2 separate regions of the Homo sapiens genome follow, and region 2 is linked to region 1. Evidence: promoter capture Hi-C in 16 types of primary human blood cells and fetal thymus (Javierre and others, 2016). All regions are on one chromosome and are shown on one strand. Each heading gives the region's core, a stretch centred on a gene start or on the middle of the fragment in contact. The rest is flanking DNA. Distances are from core to core; before and after follow the strand shown.

What was found. Contacts are between HindIII fragments. The CHiCAGO score rates a contact against its expected background, and 5 or more counts as called.
Region 2: a contact is called between a fragment that was not itself captured here and the fragment with the promoter of APP in region 1, in 1 of 17 cell types (fetal thymus). The highest score is 7.8, in fetal thymus.

What each region holds. Positions count from the first base shown.
Region 1 is chr21:26,167,895-26,172,885 of GRCh38, forward strand. It overlaps APP (amyloid beta precursor protein), which reads right to left and starts at 2,876. Exons shown (of 18, transcript NM_000484.4): 1 at 2,670-2,876. The coding sequence starts at 2,726. APP-DT (APP divergent transcript) reads left to right here and starts at 2,973. Exons shown (of 4, transcript NR_186396.1): 1 at 2,973-3,158. RefSeq lists enhancers at 1,379-1,588, 2,087-2,611 and silencers at 1,629-1,898, 2,399-3,228. The HindIII fragment of the contact is 2,642 bases long and covers 720-3,361 here.
Region 2 is chr21:29,298,574-29,303,564 of GRCh38, forward strand. BACH1 (BTB domain and CNC homolog 1) reads left to right here and starts at 349. Exons shown (of 5, transcript NM_001186.4): 1 at 349-380. LOC105369299 (a long non-coding RNA gene) reads right to left here and starts at 163. Exons shown (of 2, transcript XR_937652.3): 1 at 1-163. RefSeq lists silencers at 1-783, 3,735-4,029 and an enhancer at 2,014-2,123. The HindIII fragment of the contact is 240 bases long and covers 2,715-2,954 here.

The DNA of each region.
Region 1 (4,991 bases), core at 1,626-4,125:
CAAGAACCGTGACTCCTTACAGATCACCATCAAACCTGAGCTTTACTATTCTGTGTGTCGGCTTCTACCTTTAGCGAGGTACTAGTCAGTAGCAGCAGGTTTCCATAAACTATAAATTAGCACTACCACAAAGGTAAGATGATTGTGACTAGGTTAAACCCTCAACAGAGGGAAATAAAACTTAAGAGGAAGCTAGATTTAAAAATAAATAAATAAATAAATATTAGGGTAGTGAAACATCATATAGATTAGGGTTTGTTAAACTCACACCTCTATCAACATACCAGCCAAAATCATCAACCCAGATAATAACCATGTTTCCCCCGATAGCCAAGGCCCCATTATCATTGCCCTTATTCATTTCTTTTCTACAGCCACCTGCAGCAGACCTATTTTCTAAGCTCTATAAAAGACAGTCAACTCGTAATTACATCTTTTCAGTGGACACAGAGAGAACCAGATAAACCACCCTCAAACCTCAGTAGACTGAATTACCTACCCTTCTACCAACACTTCGCAAAATGGCATAATGTGAATCTCACCTCCACCCTTTAAAGGAGTTAACAATAGCTACTGAAAAGGTCCCAAAAGATGGCAGAAAGAGCATATTAATGCAATTAAACAGACCAAAAACTAAATTCGAATCTGCCTACATGCTTCCTCTTTTTATACAGAAAGAAATATTGCTCAACAAAGTTACATATTTAAGTTTTGACAAAAGCTTCAAAAATACGGTTATCATATGCTTTTAATTCCTTAAATGTATGGTTTTTAATCTGTAGTAAGACCATTCGGGAAAACTGGAATAATTCTACAAATAAATGTAAGTAAGTCATGAGAGAAATCAGAATTCTCTTAGTTAAGTGCATTTTTTTAAAACATGGAAAACGAAATTCTTTAACTCTTAAAACAACCTGTCTTAACTAGCCCTAAGGTGATTCCTGAGCCACTTGTGGGTAAAAATCAGAAGAGAAAAAAGTTCAATGACCTTGCAAATTAGAAACTAAAAAACTAATGGTGTGATAGTCTGTACAGCCTCAGTGGAATTACAGGAAAACATCTGCCCGGAAATTGCTTTTTTTCTTTTGGAAAATTACTAGGAGGCTGGGGGAAAAGAGGGGAAAAACGGGTAAGGAAGGTTGCAAATGTTAAGATGCCAAACAGGAACCCAACCGAAGTCCGAAGTGAAATACAGCCTCCTCTGGCCCAACTGTCATGCAAACAACTTCTAAGCATCTTCAGATGTAAAGAAAAACAGTCATTGTGCACAGGCGTTAGCTGAATGTTCGAGAGTTGGATGAATGGGGAAGACTTGTTATACACCTAGTGGTGGGTGGATTTCACTAGGCTGCAGCCTCCACACAGCTTTTCTTTGCTGCACTGCAGAGGCGCCATCTTCTCCGTCTTAATCTTCACTCAATTCGATCCTTTTATCTGCACCCTAAAAAAAAGACCCTTCGGACCCTCCCCAGCATCCTGTGCCCCCAGGGGAACTAAACCAGAGTCCCCAGAGCTGCCAGGGAAGAGGCCGCGCCTTAATCAGACAAACGCCTCCTTGGATGCACAGGACAGAGCCCGTGCCTCCCCACCATCCGCCACTGCCCTTTCCAGACGCACATCCCACTCTCCGCCTTATTTCCTCCCCGCCAAGGACTTTACAGCCCAGCACAGAATTAAGCCTCGGAGGTGATCCGAGGGTGGGAAGCAGAGGGGCCCCGAGGCTCCGCCAGAAGCCCCGGCAGCGTCTCTGCCCCCTCCCAGGCGGACGCGCAGCCCCGGGAAGGGAGCCGGGCGGGAGCCTCGGTGGCGCACTGAGACTAACGCGGCTCGGCCCACGGCGAGGGCGGGGTGTCGCGGCTTTTGTTCCCGCGGACCTTCTGCCTCTCAGACAGAGCTTAGGGTGCGAGCGAACTCCCGGGACGTCCAGACTTGGGGAAGGCGCGGGGTGGCTATGGGTCTCCGACCCCTCCCATTTCTCGCAAGTTACACAAAAGGGAGACGCGGACATGCACAAAGTTTGCCTGTGGAAGGCGGTGCGCGACCCCGACGCCGGCTCGGGCTAGGGTCGCACCCAGGCTGCCGCCGCCAGCAGCCGCGAAAAGAGGTTGGAGCAAGGAAGGGGGATGGGGGTGAGAGAGGAAGGTGAAACGAGGCGGAGAACGCAGGGAAAAGCGAGGGGCTCCTAGCTTCCTGGGCTGTCCCGACTCCTCCTCCTCCTCCCCAGGGCCCAAGAGAAAGGAAAGGGCAACGATTCAAGAGCGAAGGACTGGCTTTAGGGACGCTGCGTTTTCGGTTTTCCCCACGTGCTCCTTCCCCCTTCCCCCCTGTCTGAATGTCTCTCGCCTCCCCCGACCCCCGCTTCCAAGGCAGGGACTAAGTCGGGGTCTGGGCTCAGGGTCGCCCCCTACCCTTCTCGCCCCGGGCTGGCGCGGAACCAGGGAGACCAGCGCCTCGCCCGCTCCCTCTCAGCGGGCCGGAGCGCGACTCCCTGGGGCAGGGCTGGGCCGAAAGCGGGGATGCGCTGGACGTCCGCAAGCGGGGGCGGAGAGGAGAGGGGTCCCATTGACGGACCCCCGGCTTCTCTGCATTAAAGACTTGGGTTAAGGTCTTGGGGGGTATCGCGTCCCCACCGTGCAGCCTCCCCCCGCCTTCCGAGGCGCGGCACCCACCTCCAGCGCCCGAGCCGTCCAGGCGGCCAGCAGGAGCAGTGCCAAACCGGGCAGCATCGCGACCCTGCGCGGGGCACCGAGTGCGCTGCTGTGCGAGTGGGATCCGCCGCGTCCTTGCTCTGCCCGCGCCGCCACCGCCGCCGTCTCCCGGGGCCCCCGCGCACGCTCCTCCGCGTGCTCTCGCCTACCGCTGCCGAGGAAACTGACGGAGCCCGAGCGCGGCGGCGGGGCTCAGAGCCAGGCGAGTCAGCTGATCCGGCCCACCCCGCTCGGCACCCGAGAGAGACCCCTAGCGGCGCCGCCGGGGAACTGCGCCCGCTCGCGCCGGGAGGGGCCCTCGCGCCCCGCGCCCACAGGTGCACGCGCCCTTGGCGCCGCCTGCACCCCACGCGCCCCCTCCGCTCCCCGGCCGACGGCCCACCTGGGCTTCGTGAACAGTGGGAGGGAGAGTCTGGGGCCAGGAGAGGGACGGTGCAGGATCAGGGAAAGGTGAGTCCTAGGACGCTGAGGCTCTAGAAAAGTCGAGAGCGCTCCTGCTCGTCCCCGTGAGCTTGAATCATCCGACCCCGCAGGCCTCCCGGGGGTGTCGTATAAAGGACTGCTGCTAGGGTGCGTTTTTATCCGCATTTCGTTTTTTCTCTCGGTTTGGAGAGGTGGGGCAGGCGTTTCTGGAAGAGAATGAGAACGAGTGAAGCTTAAAGGAAATAGGATTTTCTTTGCTTGTTGAGACAGCAAAACCTCATTTTTTAACCCCCAACGTCAAAAGCAGGCACGAGCAACCTGGAATTTCTATCTTTAGAACGAACCAAAGGAGCAAGGCGCAGGACCTGGCAAAGAAGCGGCCAACCCATTTACTTCTTCTTGAAAGCAGGGTTCTGGGCTTGGGTTTTGTTTCTTTCTTATATTTTTGTTTGTTTTTGGTTTTGTTTTGTTAAAGGGGGTGGTCAGTGTGGATTTTGCGGGGCGGGGGGTCTTTTTTTGTTGTTAAGCAGGGATGTAACATCCATCTGAGTTGGGGAAGAAGGAAAAATTAGGAGAGATCATTCGTATTCGACCCCCGTAAATGAGGACTTCTGACCTCAAACGCTGCCCTTGTTCTTCATTGTGTCTGTCCTGAATTATAGAAATGAACCTTCTGCCATGCCACTTTCTCCTGGATTAAACACAAACCGTCCACTGTCCAGTTAGTGTCCAGATAGTTTAGAATGCTCTAGAACTGCCCAGATATATCCCCTGCTCTTGACCTGAAGTAGCATTTAGTTACCAAGCCACAGCCCACTCCACACAGGGCTTGGAGCGAAGGACTGAAGCCAGGGAGTGCTCTGGCCCTTCTGAGGGCTGCACTGCAGCCTGCCTTCTCTCCCTTGCTCATTGCGCTGACAAGGGTGCCTAGGCCCGGGAAGGATGGCTCAGCCAGCGGGGTACAGACTTCCTTCCTGGGAAGTCATTTCTGTACCAGCTCCCCTAAATGTTGTCTTGTGTGTCTTTTCCCGCACTAGGCATTCAGTCTTGACTCTTGGATTACTTTTGCCCCTGAATGTCCTTTGGATGTCCTCAACAAATAAGGACAAATATTTATTGTCATGCAGTATTTGTTTATACGCTTCATGTCATTTACTTCCTACAAAAGCCAAAGAGGCTGTTACTATTATTCCTATTTATACATCAGGAAAATGAAGCTAATGAACTCCCAAATCTAATAGCAAGTAAGTGACATGAAGCTGGGACAGCAGGGAAAAGCCTAAAGTGACAGGACAAACCCAGTTGTTCACTTTCTGCACCACATTTACCCACCGCAATTCCGTATTTGTTCCGGGTCTGCATGAGCAAATAAGGCAAAAAAGAAGGTATCTGAATGCAAAGAGAAACGTGGTCCAAAGCTACAAATCTTGCAGAGTCCACTGCAAAATGCAAACGTGAGACCCTTTGTTACATTATTAAGAATTTTAAGGCCGGGCCTGGTGGCTCATGCCTGTAATCCCAGCACTTTAGGAGGCCCAGGTGGGCAGATCACCTGAGGTCAGGAGTTCTAGACCAGCCTGGCCAACATGGTGAAACCCCCATCTCTACTAAAAATGCAAAAATTAGCCGAGCGTGGTTACTCCTGCCTGTAATCCCAGCTACTCCAGAGGCTGAGGCAGGAGAATCGCTTGAACCTGGGAGGCGGAGGTTGCAGTGAGCCAAGATTGTGCCATTGCACTCCAGCCTGGGCGACAGAGCGAGACTCCACCTCAAAAAAAAGAAAAAAAATTAAATTAAGAATTTTAAGATGGCAATGGCAGAGCGTTAAACCAAGCATGGGGCTCCTCCCACCGCAGGGCC
Region 2 (4,991 bases), core at 1,585-4,084, 3.1 Mb after region 1:
CAGTTCAGGATGCGGGCTGTGCCACGCGCGGAGGTCCGGGGACCCCACCGCCGCCTCCTCGAGGCCCGCCCCGCCCCTTACGACCCGTCCCTGCAACCCCCCGCGTGGGCTTCCGGCCGCGGCGACCCCTGCCCCGCGCTATTGCGCGCGCTCGTTCGCTGACAGAGGCTTCGAGGGCGGCAGGGCGGGGCTTCGGCGCCGGGGGCGGGGCCTTCAGCGGGCGGGCGGGGTTTTGGCGCCGCGAGGTGGCGGCAGCAGAGCGGCGCAGAAGGGAGGGGGCGGCTGGCCGCGCGGAAGGAGTGAGTCACCTGACCGCTGCCCTCGCCGCCCGCCGGGCGCTCTCGCTTCAGTCAGTCGGGCCGCGCCGCGCCTCAGCTCTGGTGAGTGGCTCGGCCGTCCCGCCGGCCCTTCTCCGGGAGGGTTGGCGCGGTCAGGGCCGCGGGCCTGTGAGGGGAGGCCGGCGGACAGGTCCAGTGAAGGCGCGGGCGGGCCGGGGGCGGCTCTTTCTGGGCTGGGCGGGGCGCGGGGGGCACGTATCGGGGCCCGCGGGGGGCGCCGGCGGCCGGGATCCTGGAAGTGGCCGCGACGCCGGAAGGGGCGTCCCGTCGGCGGCCGAACCCCCTGCACTGCCGGAGCTGTTGTTTACCCGCGCGCGCCGTACTTTACCCGGGGCGGGCGGGGGCTGGGGGCCGCGGGGTCCCTGCCCCACCCCCCTCCCTGCCCTCGGGCGCCAGCCCGGCCCCTCGCCCGCGGCCCGCCCGGGCTGTGACACATCAGCACCGCCCTCGCGGCTGGGGCCCCGTATTGTCCTCCGCCGCCTCCCACCGCATGCCCAGCCTCGCGTCTACTCAGCCCGGTGGCTGTCGCGCGTGGAATCGCGTAAGAAAAGCCGAGTTTGTGGCTGGGGAGAGAAGGCCACCGTGCTGAGCTGGATTTAGCGAAGACTGGTTTTGGGGACCGGAGAGCCCAGGACTCCCTTTGTTGGAGTTTTGCCCACGCGTTGTAATTAAGCCTCGCACAATATGGTGAGAGTGGGCGTTGATTCTGGAGACACCAGCTTTGTGCTCGTGTAATGTAACACGAGTGCCGTTGCTTTCTCATTCTTACACGGCAGTTTCATGTCATTGAGTAGAATTGTGCGGAATGCTTTTATGGAGTGAGGCTTCTGCGTTAAACTTGTGCTGATTCCAGGTAAAGTGTAGTAGTAATTGTGAAAGAACGTGTATGAGGAAAACGAGCTACAATGTCATGCTTGGAGGAACAAAGAATGTTTTGTAGGATGCTTTGCTTTTTGGAGAATTGTGTAGGGGTAGGGACTGTTACCCATGGATGATGCTATGGGAATTTGATCATGTATTTGAACACCCTTTACATCAGAGGGTCTGCATTGAATGCAGTTCAGAAGGATAAAGGGTGGAAATCCCAGATGTGTTAGTGGCAGAGCACTTGAGCGCTTCACATAGTCAAGCAGAGAAATGGGAAGAGGTCGGCTTGCTTCTTCCTGGTCTTTGGGTAGTGGTGCAAGGGCTGGGCTGGGCTTGAAGGCACTTGCCACTTCTGCCTTTGGACATCTTGAAGAAGCTTAGGGAAGAAAGGCTCCCGGTGAGTCAGCTTGGAGTAGGGTGACTTTGGCGTAGTGATTCTTGTATTGTTGTTTAACCTATGTTTCTGTCAAGTGGTTTACTGTTGTTCGGTATGTTGGTTGGTTAACAAGGTAGGATGACTCTCTAAAAAGTTGGGTTGCTGAGTCATTCGCCCCAGCTTGAGAGGTAATTAGAAACAGCTGGTGCAAATACTCTCATCACATGCCTCCACTATAAAAGGCCAAAGAGCGCTCTAGAGAGGTTGCTTCAGAAGGCTGAAGGGGACCCAGCTGGGGTTGTTTTGATACAGGTTATCAGTGGGTGAAGTGGAAGAGCACTCTTAGGCAGTGGCCAATAGCACTGAGGCGGGTTTAAAGACGGAGCCTCGTGACCTGCTGTCTGAGAATAAATTTGCGCTGGAGAGAGCTAAAACTGGGGAAGAAATTTGCAGCTAGGGGTAACCCAATAAAAAATATTGTAACAAAAATATTTACTACTCTTACTGGACTTAGTTTCCTTTTTGTGGTTTCTGTTACGTGGTCTATAAGTTTCAAGCAGTGAGCTTAATTTGTGCGTCATAAAAATTTGGTTATGAGTACACAGAAGGGACTTGCTCTGTTTCTCATGGCCCTTGGCTTTTCATGCATACACAAGAAGTTTCAGGAGTCAGAGGAGGGTAAGCACCATATGGGTGGAATTAATAGGTCTCATTGGGTTAAGTCTCGAAAGAGCTGTTTAATAAATAGCCAACCGTAAATACCTGTCTCATTGTCTTGATTATATGACACCACTGCCTTTACACCTGGTGTCATTGCTTCTTGCTTTAAAAAGGAGCACACAACCCAAATATTTATATGAGTCCTCATTGCAAACAAAGTTTAGGAATGGGAAATGTAGAGCTGGGAATTTGGCCCTTTGGTGAAAAAAATGATGATTCCTATTAATGGTAGTTCATTTAAAATATTCTGTATTAGGAAAAACGATTTATTTTGTTCCTTTAAGTCTGGGACTAGAGGAGATTAGAAATCATGAATTTTGTAAGTATTAGGGCCTCCAAGGTGGGGTGCAAGGAGGTTCATTTGGAAGGAATATATTAAAACTTTTAAAAACTTTAATATAAGAAAGACATTAAGCTTAAAGATGCAGACTAACAATCGTGTATTCATATTATATAATGCGCGTGCATGTCCTCCACCCCTTTGTTGCTGGGGGAACATAGCCTGTTAACCACTGTCAGTAACATTCTTTCAACAACCGGAATGCTTTTTCTTTTAACTTACGGTTTCCTCCTAAGAGTTCTTTCAGACTGTTAATATTCCATTTAAGTTTTATTTTATAGGTAGTTCTATTGTCTGTATGTTTTACTTTAGAAGCTTGAGTGTAAATTTCTTGTTACATTGTTGATACTGGGGATGGAAATACAAAAAATACAGAATTTCATTTGATAACCTGTATTTTGAATTTGGAGACAAGCCCAGCGGTTGGTTTAATGTATGTGATCTGAAGTGCAGTGATGTGTAAAAGGGTGCAGTGGAAATACTTGAAGATAATCTACACATTGGAGTGTAATATGTATAGCATATGTAAAAATTAGTTTGTACTGTTACTCCTTGAAGTCTGTTTTTTTTTGTTTGTTTTTTGCCAAGCTTATGTTCTCTTAAGATTAATAAGACGACATATTCAGTAAATCCCTTGGGAAGTGGCATTTATTCAGAATATCAACCTCCTACTAGTGCTGGGGGCGGGTGGCGGCGGTGAGGGTGGTTAGTATTTACCATTCAGTTAAATCTCATGTGCCATGTGCCTTCTACACCCCTGTACTGTGAGAGGTGATGCTCAGAATAACAGTTGCAAAGCCCGTTAAAATTACCACTTGTCAGATTTTCTCTTCATAGTGCTGATCTCTCCATGACTTACGTTTTAGGAATCACCACCTCTCTTCTAATTTTCTGACTAATGTTCTGTTAATGAGAGAATTGTCTTAACCCTAAAACCTGCATTCCCTGAGCATTCTAGACAGAGGGTTTATTTTATGTGGTGGAACGATGATTTTTGAGATTGTTTTGATTTAAAATATATGTCAAATGAGGTAATGTACCGATGGCCAAGGTATGGGTAATTTGAGTGCAATTCGCCAGAATCCGTGCCCCTTGGAGGGAGTAAACATTTCAGGACTGCAGCTAAAACATTGACTTACACTCTCCTGAAGCCCAGGCACCTGGCTTACACAGTGCACTAACATAACTGAAGTCTGGGTTTGATCACTGTACAGTTGACAAAGAAGCAGTAAGCAGAATGGTTAAAAAGTAGTTCTGGAGCCAGACTGCTTAAGGTCAGGTTCTGGTTGTGTCACCCACTTTAAAGCCTTGGGCAAGCTCTTCTACCTGGTAACTAGTGCCTCATTGTTTCCTCTGTAAAACAGGGGTGGTGATAGTAGAATCTGTATCAGAGAGGTTGTTGTGAGGATTATATGCGTTAATACGGGGTAAGTGGTTAGAACAGTGCCAGCTTTATAAGAAACATCAAGTGTTAGGTGTTATTATCTGTTGTTCAGAATCAGGGAAGTACTTAGTTACACAGTAGTGTTTTATAGCTGTTGAGAGCTGAATTGCCGGCATTGATCACAAGTGAGACTGGAAAAACAACCCGGGGAACACTCTTATGTTAAGTCAGTAGCACCATCTCAAACATACATCCAACTTCTGAGGGCAACGAACACAGGACATAGCTTTTTACTTAAAGGAATCTTAACAGTCTCAGCGGAGTGCTTGAGGTAGTCACTAACCAGTTAATTGAAACTGGCTTTTACGAAATAAAAACACTTGCCATTCTTTGGCTAGTCTTTTCCACGTTGTAGTTGACATTGTGGCCTGGCAGCTTTAGTAACCTGTCCACCCCTCCCTTCTTGTTAATACCAGAACAGAACTAGTTTCTCAGTACATATTCCTGGGCCCTATCCAGTTTGTTGGAAACATTTAGAATGTAAATTTGTAAGCTAATTAGTTTCTTCTAAGTATTATGTTTTCTTTAGATGATATGCCTGTACTAATACAGAAAAATTATCCATGAAATGGATATGAATACAATGGACATATTTATCGTATAGCTTTTTGTACCTGTTAGTAATTCAGAAAGGTTGTGTTATTTTGACCATTCTTTCAGCCAGATTGTAAGTTTCCTGATGGTGAGAATCTGTGTCTTTCTGTTTTATCTCCTATGGCACTCTGAATGTGCCTTGGCTGTGTTTCTTTAATAAACTGTTGGTTGCTGAACTGGGTGGTATGATATGCGTTCATTCTAGTTCTGTGATTTTGAAACTTGGGAATGTTTAACAGATTGAAGGAGAGAACATCGTGTGTGGTACCTTGTAAGTGTGCACTGAGTTGAAATTCTTTTGATTATTTAGCT